Regions from separate parts of the Homo sapiens genome. Here region 1 is linked to region 2. Evidence: promoter capture Hi-C in human tissues and cell types (Jung and others, 2019). All regions are on one chromosome and are shown on one strand. Each heading gives the region's core, a stretch centred on a gene start or on the middle of the fragment in contact. The rest is flanking DNA. Distances are from core to core; before and after follow the strand shown. Region 1 has its middle 8.1 kb from the start of COL16A1. Region 2 holds the start of KPNA6 (karyopherin subunit alpha 6).

What was found. Contacts are between HindIII fragments. The study calls those that stand out against the background at their distance.
Region 1: a contact is called between a fragment that was not itself captured here and the fragment with the promoter of KPNA6 in region 2, in 1 of the 25 tissues and cell types used here (hippocampus).

The regions. Positions count from the first base shown.
Region 1 is chr1:31,708,675-31,715,464 of GRCh38, reverse strand. No RefSeq gene overlaps it. Among named protein-coding and RNA genes, the nearest start is that of COL16A1, 8.1 kb to the right of the region's middle. RefSeq lists enhancers at 1-143, 3-297. The HindIII fragment of the contact is 5,169 bases long and covers 1-3,924 here.
Region 2 is chr1:32,105,999-32,112,708 of GRCh38, reverse strand. It overlaps KPNA6 (karyopherin subunit alpha 6), which reads right to left and starts at 4,653. Exons shown (of 14, transcript NM_012316.5): 1 at 4,575-4,653. The coding sequence starts at 4,578. RefSeq lists enhancers at 3,923-4,440, 4,398-4,827, 4,441-4,959. The HindIII fragment of the contact is 12,561 bases long and covers 654-6,710 here.

The DNA of each region.
Region 1 (6,790 bases), core at 91-2,590, 390 kb after region 2:
CCACCCTCGACGCCCTTCTATTCCCTGACCCCACGCGGGAGGAGGGCTCCATGCCTCTCAGAGGCAGGCTACCCCTCATCTAGGCCTCTCTGGACCTTGGGACAGGTTCTAAGGTTGGCCAGGGCTGGGCGGAGCCAGATAGGAGGCAGGGCCTAGGGCGGAGTCAGGGAAGGCACCCGGCCATGAGTGTGGTCCAAAGGCAGACCAGTGGCGTGGCCAGAGTGGGCTGGAGGCGTGGCTGTCGGCGGGGTGGGGTCGGGATCCCCAGAACCTGGCAGCTTCCTCTCCTCTCCCACCCTAGCCAGTTCTGTCGCCCAAAGCCCCGCCCGCCCTGGCCCCTGGTCCAATGGGCAGACACAGCGACCATCGGGAGGCTCCTGGTCCCACTTAACAGAGGTCGTTATTTGGGAGGCCGCGCCCAGTTCTCTGGAACTGCCAGGCCTTGTGGGGAAGGGGGGCGCATTCTCTGGGCCTGCGCCGCACACCCTGACACCCACCCTCCATGTGCTTCCACCCTTTTCCAAGTAGACAGCTGGAGGGCCTGGGGCTTGAGCCCCGAGCTGGAGGAGCTGGTCAGGCGCCTGCGCCCCCCACGAGGCCCCCCTTCCCTTCAGTCTGCGCTCAGGCCCAGAGCCGGCTCTAAAAATAGACCGGGGCGCAGGAACGTGCCCACCCAGGAGCGGGTCAAGGAGGCCTGAGTCACCGTGTCGGGAGAGCCTTCTTCTTCTCCTCCCCGCCCCCCCACCACCTCCCACCTCGGGGGCTGAGGACGCCTCGATGGCCCGGCATCACTCCGGCTCTGCTGGCCCGACTCTGCGCCCTTGGCAGGGCGGTGCCGGCGGGGCAAGCGGTAGCAGCCACAGCCGGGAAGGATTAGGAGTTCCTGGGCCTGATTTATTTGGTTGTTTTCGTGCGTCTGGCGGCGGCGCCCCCGCCTGGCAGGACAGTCACGTCTGCATTGCTCTTCTCTCCCACCCAAGCTCATGGGTCTGTCCTAGACTTCAGGGTGGGGACCTGGGCTCGCAGCAACACAAAGTCCCGACCTGGATATTAGCGGTTCTGGAGCAAACACTGCTATTCCATAGATGAGAAAACCGAGTTCCAAAGAGAGGAAGAGGCCCATGGCACAGTAGAGTGCCCTGTGACAGCTCTGGATTTCACTCCACTTCCTAGGGCCTGTTTCCTACTGTAGGTGCTCCACCCGAGGATGACACCCAGGTTTATGGCCCATTCCCCTGTCAATTGGGAATGAGACATACTTGGGATTGTCCTAATGATTGAAATAATTTTTTTTTTTGAGACAGAGTCTCACTCGGTCTCCCAGGCTGGAGTGCAACAGCGCAATCTCAGCTCACTGCAACCTCCACCTCCTGGGTTCAAGCGATTCTCCTGCCTCAGCCTCCCAAATAGCTGGGATTACAGGTGCCCACCAACAGGCCCAGCTAATTTTTTTTTGTATTTAGTAGAGACGGGGTTTCACCATGTTGGTCAGGCTGGTCTCGAACTCCTGACCCCAGGTGATCCATCTGCCTCCTCAAAGTGTTGGGATTACAGACATGAGCCACCACACCCGGCCAAAATATTTTTTAAAAAGCAGTCGTGGCATATTGGGAGTCACACACACCTGGCTTCAGTCCCGCTCAGCAAGTTACCATCTCCAACACCTATTTTTCTCTCCTTCCAGAGGAGGATTAATGGGTGTGGTGTGGTGGGCTCCTCTTCCTGGAAGGACTTAGCTAAGGTGGTATGGGGAATGGTCACAGGGTACTTGGATGGATCTGGAACACCTGGTAAACTGAGGCGTGTATGAGGCCTGAATTGGGGGTGAGCGGGAGGGTGGTACCCTGGCCCTCACACAGGTCTGGCTCACTTCACCCCACTCCCATTCCCCTTCCCCATCTCAAGGAGGGGACATATTTGGCTCATTACAGGCTTAAGACCCTCAGACTTGGGAGGAATGGAGTGGGCTCAAGAGTCTCCAAGTTCAGCCTTCCCTAGTTTCCCAAAGGCAAGAAGCCTCCTAAAGCCAAACAATGCATCAAGGCAGACCTCGGCCTTGAACCTAGGCCCCCAGTCTGCCAATCCCCCAGTCCCAGGCTCTTTCTCCCACTCTCCCATCACCTGTCCTCTTTCGTTCGAACACACCAGTGTCAGGCCTTTTCTGAATGGTCAAGGCTGACAAACAAATACTCCAGTTGGTTTTCGGTCTTTACATATTATCATTTAGGCCACTTCACGGAAAAAGGTCTTATGTCTGTCAGAAATGTCACTGAGCTCTTAAAGCTACATGAAACCAGCTATGTAAATAATAAAATGGGGGATCAGGAGGAAATGTCAGAGATGAACATGGGTGTAAGATGCAGGACAAGAGTCTGCTCAAATAAAAATAAGGTACATAAGAATGAGCATTGTTGAATGTTTACTATGGGCTTGGCGTAGTCTCATGCATTATCTCATTGAATCCTCACAATTCCATGTGGTTAGTGTTATTACTATCACCCCCCTTCTACAGATATGGAAAGTATGCCTCACAGAGGTGAAGGAATTTGCCTAAGATAATAAAGCCAGGAAGTAGCAGAGCCAGGATCACACCCTTTCTTGATCTCTGATTTATTTTCTGCTTTGGTGAAACAGTTGGGGTTTCTCCCTGAACTTTCCCTTCCCCTGCTCACTCCCTTAGCCTTCTTTCTAGCCAGGTCACCAGGCCTCTCCTGCCCAGCCCCAGCCCAGGCACTGCTGGGAGGAGGAGGAGCTGGGCAGCTGCCAGAGCTTCTCTCCACCCAGAGATTCCAGGATTCGAAGAATTTATGAGACCAACTGTCTGAGTTTCTTGCATGCGAAGAAAGAATCTGGGAGTCCTTCAATACTCCCCTCATCACCAAGCATCCGCCAGGAGACTCCTTGGTTTGTACTTCATGGAGGGGAGTTTGTCCTCAGAAGGCGCTCGACCCCCTCTTTCATTCATGCAGCAACTATTTTTAAAACACCTAGTCTCTGTCACAGGCTCTAGGGAGAAATGGTAACAAAAGCAGCTCCTTTTGTGACTTCTGGTTTAGCAGGACACAAAGACGTTCAAGCAAATCAATGGCTAATAATTGATGATCCTCCTCCCTCCTCCAAGCTTCTGCCAAGATCTACCCGCCCTGGGGCCTGTTTCCAATTTCCTTCCCCACCTCCAAGTGGGAAGGAAAGTGAACATAGCCTCAAAGCTAAACATTGAGGGGAGGGAAGCCCGCCAAGGGACTGCGTGTGTTGTGGTGGTGAAGATTACATACTCTCTTTGTGGTGGCAATGAGGGTTACACACTCTCATTGTACATCTAGAATAGCTGGTGTTCATTGAGTTCCAGGAACCAAGCTCAGCACTTTAAATGTCCTGTCACAGGTAACCCTCACAGCATCCTTGTGAGGTAGGGACAATTCTGTTTCACCAACGAGAAAACTGAGGCTTACTCCAGGAAGATGGGGTAGTTTGTCAAAAGTCACACAGCTAGTAAGTGGTACAGGCAGGATTTGAACCCAGTTACCCTGGAACTAGAGTCCCCTTGCCCCTTCCTTTAGCCACTATGCTGAGGTCTTATTTGCATTTTTTTTTTTTTTTTTGGAAACAGGATCTCGCTTTGTTGCCCAGGCTGGAATGCAGTGGCATAGTCACAGCTCACTGCAGTTTTAACCTCCTGGGCTCAAGAGATCCTCCTGCCTCAGCCTCCTGAGTAGCTGAGACTACAGGCATGGACTGCCACACCCAGCTAATTTTTAAAAATTTTTTGTAGAGACAAGGGTCTCACTATGTTGCCCAAGCTGGTCTCAAACTCCTATGTTCAAGTGATCCTCCTGCTTGGGCCTCCCAAAGTGCTGGGATTATAGGCATGAACAACTATACCTGGCTCTTATTTGATTATTACAGGTGAAGAAAGTAAGGCTCAGAGGAGCTTAGGGTTTAGCTCAAGGTCACACAGCACAGCAGGATTGAGTTGTGTTGGTTGGTGGCCAAAGGGATGTTTGGATAAGGTGTGGTGGTGGCAAGCTATGCCATTCTTACCCCAAAAGGCTAGGGTCATTAGGTGTGGGATTGGGTCTGGAGGAAGTCTGGGGGCCACACCAGTCTGGGGGTTCTCACTGCTGACTATGTGCCACCCTCACCTCTGCTCCAGGAGAACCTGTGCTATGGGGCAGGAGTCCCTGGGAATACCTAGGCAGACGTGAGCAACATCCCACTGTCCCGCCTGGGCTTATGTCATTTGGCATCTTGTGCCTTGCTCTTACTAGGCCTGGAGAGATATCTGATAGGCAGGAGAAGAGGCTGTTTTAGTTCTCTGCTCACTGGGAGCTTCTTCTGTTTGGAAAGGGGGAGCATTGCCTGGGTTGGGAATCCTAACGCTGGTGAGCACTTCTGAGAGTTTACTAGGTGCCAGCATCCCGTGAGGGGCTTTCTCTTTGTCACTATCTCCCTTAATCCTTCCAGCAACCCTACGTGATAGGCACTGCTGTTATCTCTGCTTGCAGAGGAAGAGGTTAAGTGATATCCCCAAGTCATAGACTCAGTAAGGGCTGGATTTGAACCCACATGCAGATAATCAAACATCATACTCTCCCGCAGGGGTTCTCAAATGTGGTCCCTGGGTCCACAACATCAGCATCACCTGGGAACTTGTTAGGAATGCAAACTACTGAATCAGAAACTCTGAGAGTGGGGCCTGCCAACCTGTGTTTAACAAGTCCTCCAAGCTTGAGAACGCCTACCCTCCTGCTTTACAGAACTTGGGGGACTGCAGGTGACCTGAGTAAACTCATGGGCCCTGGTGTTAGGCAGAGTCAAGTTCCAATCTCTGGCCCACCTGACTTTCCAGCTTTAAACCTTTTTTTTTTTTTTTTTTTTTTTTTTGAGATGGAGTCTCGCTCTGTTGCCCAGGCAGGAGTGCAGTGGCGTGATCTCAGCTCACTGCAACCTCCACCTCCCGGGTTCAAGTGATTCTTCTACCTCAGCCTCCCAAGCAGCTGGGATCACAGGTGCGCGCCACCATGCCGGGCTAATTTTTAGTAGAGATAGGGTTTCGCCATGTTAGCCAGGCTGGTCTCCAACTCCTGACCTCAAGTGATCCACCTACCTCCACCTCCCAGAGTGCTGGGATTACAGGCATGAGCCATTGCACCCGGCCCAGAACAGGATTTCTCTCCTTCAGCACTACTGACATTTGGGGCCAGATAATTCGGATTGTGAGGGGCTGTCCTGGGCACTGTAGGATGGTAGGCACATCATTGGCCCCTGTCCTCCAGATGCCAGTGGCAACCCCTCCCCCATTATGACAATCAGAAATGTCTCCAAACATTGCTAAATGTCCCCTGGGAGCAAAGTTGCCCCCTGTGGAGAACCACTGGGGTAGAATAATTAGGCCAGTTTCTTTCATTTTTTTTTTTTTTTTTTTTTTTAGACAGAGTTTCACTCTTGTTGCCCAGGCTGGACTGCAATGGTGCAATCTCAGCTCACTGCAACCTCAACCTCCTGGGTTCAAACGATTCTCCTGCCTCAGCCTCCCGAGTAGCTGGGACTACAGGGGTGCACCACCACACCCAGCTAATTTTTGCATTTTTAGTAGAGACGGGGTTTCACTATGTTGGCCAGGCTGGTCTCGAACTCCTGACCTTGTGATCCACCTGCCTCGGCCTCTCAAAGTGCTGAGATTACAGGCATGAGCCACCGCACCTGGCCTAGGCCTGTTTCTTTTAGATGCCATAACACACCAGGCTAGGTAGCTTAAACTGGGATTGTATGACACATGGGGACCAGGGTCCAGGGCCACACAGTGGCTAGAGGTAAGACTGGAATCCAGGTCTTTTGTGCCTGCCACAACTCTCTGTGAGTCATTCAAAACAGGTGGGCAGAGTCCAGGGGCAGCCAAGCTGGGGCCCAGGATACCTGGAGTGTCTGGTATCCCGTGTCCACCTTCCCTGGCCATTGCCACATCCACAGCAGTGTCCATCAGGATCTGGGCTCACCTCTCTTGCAGCTCTGGGGTAGTCAAACCAAGCAGGTGTCTGGTAACATGAGCTGCTTGAAGTAAGATGCCCTGGCTGGGCCTGGTGGCTGGGGAAGGTTGCCAGGACCCAGGTCTCAGTGAGGAGTTTGCCACGGCCCCGTAGGGGAGATGGGGCATTATCGGAGAGGAGCACTGGCCTTCCCACTATGACCATAAAGCTGCCAGTCAGAAGTGAAAGATGGGTCTCCCTGCCACAGGGACGCAGACAGCCGTGAAGACGTGGTGGCCGAGCTGATTTAGGACAAGAGGGAGGAAGAATGAAAGACAGAGAGGCAGAGATCTAGAGCCAGCAAGATGGAGACCAGACCCAGAAACAGAGACGAGCAGATGGAGAATGAATGAGACACACACGGAGAGACAGAGACAGGGTGAGGAGAGACAGAGACAGGGTGAAGAGAGATACAAATGCGCAGAGAGATAGTGACGGGGAAGACAGAGACAAACAGAGACAGAAGACAGGAACGTAAAGATGCGGAAAGTGTGAGAAAAAGAGACCAGAGACACAGAGACATAGAGACGCCAAGTTAGATACACAGGATCCCAAACACAGAGGAAAACAGAGGGACCTACGAAAGAGAGAGCTGGAGACGGGGACAGACTTGCTGAGAAGGAAGAAAGAGCCACAGAGATTTCACACAGACAGAGGACAGAGACAGTGAGAGACACACTCAGAGAAACCAAAGCAGCCAGAGAGAGCCCTGATCCTCTGGTCTCAGTCTCTCCTCTGTGACCCCGAAGCTGCAACTGTGTCTG
Region 2 (6,710 bases), core at 3,404-5,903:
CCAGCCTGTCCAACATGGTAAAACTCCGTCTCTACTAAAAATACAAAAATTAGCTGGGTGTGGTGGTGGGCACCTGTAATCCCAGCTACTCAGGAGGCTGAGGCAGGAGAATGGTTTGAACCCAGGAAGCGGAGGTTGCAGTGAGCCGAGATCACGCCATTGCACTCCAGCCTGGGTGACAGACAGGGCCAGCCTGTCTCAAATAAATAAATAAATAAATAAAAGAGGTACTTTTACTCTACATATTATTGCACACTTAAGAGACTACAGTATAGTATAAAGATAACTTTTATATGCATTGGAAAACAGAAAAATTCATGTGACTTGCTTTATTATATTTGCTTTATTGCAGTGGTCTGGAACCAAACTTGCCTTAGCTCTGAGGTATGCCTCTACTTAGAAGAGTACCTAGCACATAGCAAGTTCTATACAAGTGTTGGGTATTATTATTATTATAGCTTTCCCATCTCTGTCTTTGTTTGTGGTTCACACATTTTGGTGCAACCTGGGTTAAAATACAAACTGGCAAAAAATAATAAAATAAAAGCTGGCAAGTCTCTTTTAAATAAGGAAGGCTTCTCCACAAGTTCCCCAGGCTTCCCTTCCCATCTAATTAGCAAGAACTGCATCATATGCCCATGCCTAAATCAATCACTGTCTAGGGAGCTAGAGTTACAATGATTGGTTTAGAGTTTATATCAAGACCCACCCCTTGGGGTAAGGAAGGGTGGCCAGATTCCCAGTTAGCACAGTAGTAGTAATGGTGAAAAGACAAGTAGTGTCTGCCAAGACTCATGAGGTTGTAGTCTCTGCTAGAGGGTCAGAATAAAGCAATCTCCAGAGCTACAAATATCACCCCTACAGGGCACCTAGTGGCAGGGAAATCACTGCAAAGGTCTGTTAAGGGTAATGAAGTTTGGCATAGTAGAAATAGTGTAGGATATACGACTGAGCTAGTAGGATACAGACTGAGAGTACACTTAAGAGGCAGTGAAATACGGCAGGTTCCGTACTTGTGGGCATGTGAAGGCAGGCTGTGTTAGTGTCTCCAGTGCCCAAAGGATCCAGAATACCAGCCTTGGACTAGTCACCTAATCTTCTCAAAGCCTCAGTTTATAAGTGTAAATGGAGATAACCCAAGATACCTTAGATTAGATGTTAGAATTAAATGAATGCATTAGTTTGGTCTACAACAAACAAAAAGCTGACATTCATAAAGACAAGCTACGATGAGGGAGAGGTACCTGAGATGGAGCTGGAAAGAGGAAGTTACCTGACTCTAGGCTAAAAACCCCCTTCAAGACCTTGGTCAGGGTTTGTTGCTCCACTGAAGAACTTTCATGTTGAACTGTACCAGAATAGGACTAACTTTATTTCTTAACTTCTTAAGTCTTATAGATTTATGTGCTGCAAAATGGGTAAGAATCTTACTCCTGGCTTTGTGGCTTACTGGCTGTGTTATCTTCTCCGAGACAGTTTCCCAATCTATAAAACTGAGTAAATCTCTACTTATTTCACTGAGCTTATTAAACATTAGTTCCTTCCCTTTGAGGCAACAGTGTTTCTGAAACTGAAGACCAATATAAAATTTATAACAAAGTTTATAACATAAAACCCCCTAAATTTTTTTCACTGAAAGATGAAGCTCCAGCTACTAAGAAAGGCCTATCAGTCTTATTACTCAATAGGGAAACCTGGAAACCAGAGTGCTTAAGGGAAAGGAACATTATTGAAAGTGGAAAAGAATCTGTTCTGATATTCATGGAGCCCTTTAGGCTCCAAACACTGTTATCTGTTTTTTGTTTGTTTATTTGTTTGTTTTTGAGAGGGAGTCTAGCTTGTTGCCCAGGCTGGCATGATCTCGGCTCACTGCAACCTCCGCCTCCCGGGTTCAAGCAATTCTCCCTTCTCAGCCTCCCAAGTAGCTGGGATTACAGGAGCACGCCACCATACCCAGCTAATTTTTGTATTTTTAGTAGAGACAGGGTTTCACCTTATTGGTCAGGTTGGTGTCGTCCTCCTGACCTCAGGTGATCCACCCGCCTCGGCCTATGGGATTATAGGCCTGAGCCACCTTGCCCAGCCCAAATGCTGTTATCTTATTTAGTCCCCAAATATCTTGATAACACAGCCCCACCCCTTCTTTCTAGAGGTCAGAAAAGGAAGGCTCAGAAAGGAAGAAAAACATTATTGTGGACTGTGCTAGATGCTTTCCATATGTGTTGTTGTGTCTGACATTTAAGTGACTTCCAATACCAGATCTGATTCTACAGTCATTGCCTTGAAGCTCAAGTGAATAATTTCTGCTTCCTTAGAATCTCAGATCTTTAAAAATCCAATTCCAGGCCAGGCGCGGTGGCTCATGCCTGTAATCCCAGCACTTTGGGAGGCCGAGACGGGCAGATCACCAGAGGTCAGGAGTTCGAGACCAGCTTGGCCAACATGGTGAAACCCTGTCTCTACTAAAAATACAAAAATTAGCTAGGTGTGGTGGTGGATGCCTGTAATCCCAGCTACTCAGGAGGCTGAGGCAGGAAAATTGCTTTAACCCGGGAGGCAGAGGTTGCAGTGAGCCGAGATCTGGCCACTGCACTCCAGCATGGGAGACAAGAGTGAAATTTCTTCTCAGAAAAAAAAAAAAAAAAAAAAAAATTCAATTCCAGATTCTCATTTTGCTTGCCCCACACACAATAATTAGAGTTATCAATTCACTCTGGACTCCTTCAGTTTCGTTCAGAAAAAGGATTTCAAAGTGGCCGGGCATGGTGGCTCACGCTTGTAATCTCAGCACTTTGGAAGGCGAGGCGGGAGGATCACGAGGTCAGGAGATCAAGACCATCCTGGCTAACACGGTGAAACCCCGTCTCCACTAAAAATACAAAAAAATACAAAAAAAATTATCCAGGCGTGGTGGCGGGCACCTGTAGTCCCAACTACTCGGGAGGCTGAGGCAGGAGAATGGCGTGAACCCGGGAAGGTGGTAGTTGCAGTGAGCCGAGATCGCGCCAATGCACTCCAGCCTGGGCAACAGAGCCAGACTCCGTCTCAAAAAAAAAAAAAAGATTTCATAATGGGCCCACATGCAAAAACAAAAAGCAAAACAAAACAAAATAAACAAACAGAAAACCCAAACACATTTACAACTTTGCCTAGGGTTAAAAGCTTTTTTCCCCTTTTCTCCCTGCCCAACCACTAGAGGGCCAGGTCATTTAAAAAAAAAAACAAAACAAAAAAACAGGCTGGACGCAGTGGCTCACACCTGTAATCCCAGCACTTTGGGAGGCCGAGGCAGGCGAATCACTTGAGGTCAGGGGTTCGAGACCAGCCTGGCCAACATGACGAAACCCTGTCTCTACCAAAAACACACAAAAATCAGCCGGGCGTGGTGGTGGGTGCCTGTAATCCCAGCTACTCGGGAGGCTGAGGCAGGAGAATCGCTTGAACCCGGGAGGCAGGAGGTTGCAGTGAGCCGAGATCGCGTCACTGCACTCCAGCCTGGGCGACAGAGCAAGACTCTATCAACAACAACAACAAACAGCAGTTACAAACTAGGCTTGGGAGTGTTCACCCTGGCTTAGCCACTGCATGACCTTGGGTAAGTTACTTTACCTCTCTAAAGCTCAGCTTCCACATCTGTAAAATGGCAATGGTAGCATCTATTTCCTTAGGTTGTACAAATTAAGTAAAACAAGACATGTAAAGCAATCAGAACAATGCCCGTACGTAGAAAGAGCTTAGCAAATTTCACAATTTTTACTGCTTTAGAGGAATTACCACTGTTGGTTCTGTCTCTAAATCCAAAGACTTCGCCATGGTATTCTCTCTGAACAGAGGCCTTGCCAGCCGGAGTCCCCTCAGAAAGATCAACAGGTCGCTCCTTTTCTCCTTACCAGGGCCAGCCCAGAAACCTAAAGTCCTCAACCTAAAGATGGCCAAGAGGACTTGGCCTTTGGTGTTCTACCATCACAAGCGATGCCACTCTGAGCCCAACCGAACCACACTATTTCCGCCTTGATTCCGTTCTCCCGGCCTTCAGCGGCGCAAGCTGCCCTCGGCCTGGCTGCCCATGCTTACCGGCCTAGTGCTGGCTCGCCTGACGTCCCCTCACTAGAGGACTCCACCTCGCTACGTAGGTAGGACTTCCCTGAGTTCAGGGGAGCCACTGAATCTAGTCAAGACACGCGTTGGCCAAACACAACCCAGGAGAAAGCTACCTTAGCGCCGCCCAGGCCTGCCGCCGGGAGCCCGTCCCCCAGCCCCAGTCTGGGCGCAGGACAGAGAGTAGGCCCCTTTCTACCTCCCAGGAACACGTGGGCTCCTGCCCGAGGCCACCATGTGGGGGGCTCCAGGCGTGCCAAGGTGTCCCCGAAACCAGCACCAAAGGACTGCTTCCAGCACGGGCCCTAGCTCGGCCCAAAACTGGCAAGAGGGGCACTCCCGGCCTGACTTTTCCCCTCAGACCTAGCTAGAGGGGATGCAGACATCTTCCGCAGACCGGAGACAGGCTCTCGCCAAATCCCAGGCCCCGACACTCCCTGAGCCCAAGAACCCTACTGCGTGGTTTCCTCACTCACCCATCGCGGGTCCGCTCGCTCACTCTTGGCGGCGGAGGCAACGGCGGCAGCTTCAGCGGCAGCTTTCAGTAGACAATATGGCGGATCTGTAGGACGGCAGCCCGAAAGGGACAAACCAGTTAACTCCAGGACGAAACGCTTTATTGGCCCAATCGCCTATCATTACACCGAAAGTGCGCACTTAAAGAGACCGCAGCTACTAAAGGTGGGGAGTGGAAATGAAATAGGAAAGGAGTGGTTGGGAGGAGACTGGAAGGGATACCTAAGAAAGTTAAGTGTGTCTAGGAGTTCCCAGCTGTTTCTGCTACTATTTCTTTTTTATAGTGAGATTTCTTTACCCGGAACTTTTTCTCCCAGAAGCTTATCCCTCCTTTTTTTTTTTTTTTTTTTTTTTTTTTTTTTGAGACGCAGTCTCGCTCTTGTCCCCCCAGGCTGGAGTGCGATGGCGCGATCTCGGCTCACTGCACACTCTGCCTCCCGAGTTCAAGCGATTCTCCTGCCTCGGCCCCCCGAGTAGCTGGGATTACAGGCGCCTGCCACCACGCCTGGCTAATTTTTGTATTTTTACTAGAGACGGTGTTTCAACCATGTTGGCTAGGCTGGTCTTGAACTCCTTACCTCAGGTGATCCGCCCGCCCCCAAAGTGCTGGGATTACAGGCTTGAGCCACCGCTCCGGGCCAGTTTATCCCTTCTTCTAATAGTTGAAACCAATCGGCTGGGCGCTGTGGCTCACGCCTGTAATCCCAGCACTTTGGGTAGGCCGAGGCGGGCGGATCACCTGAGATCAGGAGTTCGAGACCAGCCTGCCCATGGTCTCTACTAAAAATACAAAAATTAGCTGGGTGTGGTGGCGCATGCCTGTAATCTACTTGGGAGGCTGAGGCAGGAGAATTGCTTTAACCCGGGAGGCAGAGGTTGCAGTGAGCCGAGATTGTGCCACTGCATTCCAGCCTGGGAGACAAGAGCAAAACTCCGTCTCTAAAAACAAAAACAGCAATCATAGACCTTGGGCTGAATATGAACAACGAATCATCTAGAGAGGGGAAGTGCCTTGCTCAATGAGGCTATGGAGAGAAGGAAACAAAGAAGTAAGACTAAACTCAGGTTTTCTGATTAGGCCTACGTAGGTAGCCCTAGTTGAGGTTGCAATCTTATTGGGAGATGAGAAATAGAAAAATAGGGCTGGGTGTGGTGGTTCACGCTTGTCTATAATCCTAACACTTTGGGAAGCTGAGGCCAGAGAATCACTTGAGGCCAGGAGCTCAAGACCAGACTGGGCAACACAGTGAGACCCCATCTCCACAAAAAATAAATTAAAAGAAAAAAATTAGCCAGGCATGGTAATGAGCACTTGTACTTGGGCGGCTGAGGCGAGAGGATCACTTGAGTCCGGGAGGTCAAGGCTGCAGTGCCATGACTGTGTCACTATACTCCAGGTTGGGTGATAGAGTGAGACCCTGTCTCTAAAAAAAAAAAAAAGAGAGAGAGAGAGAGAGAAAGAAATGGGCTGGACATGGTGGCTCATTCCTGTAATCCCAGCATTTTAGGAGGCTGAGGCGGCAGATTGCTTGAGCCCAAGAGTTCGAGACCAGCCTGGGCAACATAGCAAGATCCCCCGTCTCTAAAAAAAAAAAAGAAAAACAATGAGACCCATGCAGTATAGTTAACAGAGTGATTTCATAATCATTTCATTTATCCTCACAGCAAGCTCCTTGAAGGCAGGGGTGGGTTCTATATTGTTTACCACCGTATCTCCAGCACCTAGCACAGAATCTGGCACATTGTGTGTGCTCCATAAATAACTATTGAATGAATAAACAAAGGAATGAACAAAAAATTGAGTTACACAGAGCAAGGGACATGATCTCCCCTTTTAGAGATGAGGAAATTGAGGCTTTTATTGTTCATATGCCTTTTCAATCACGGGACGTATGGCTAGTACATATCAGGCCTTTCTTTTTCCATGACATGGCAGCCCTCCTGTCCCCCACCTCGACACACAGAGCCAGGCTATATCTTCAAGACACAGAGGGATCTATCTTCTGGAAGCAGAACAAGGGCCTGTCACAACAAACTGCCAACTTTAGTTGTGCGCCTGGCCCATTTTCTTGAGGCAAAGAAATCAAAAGGAAAAC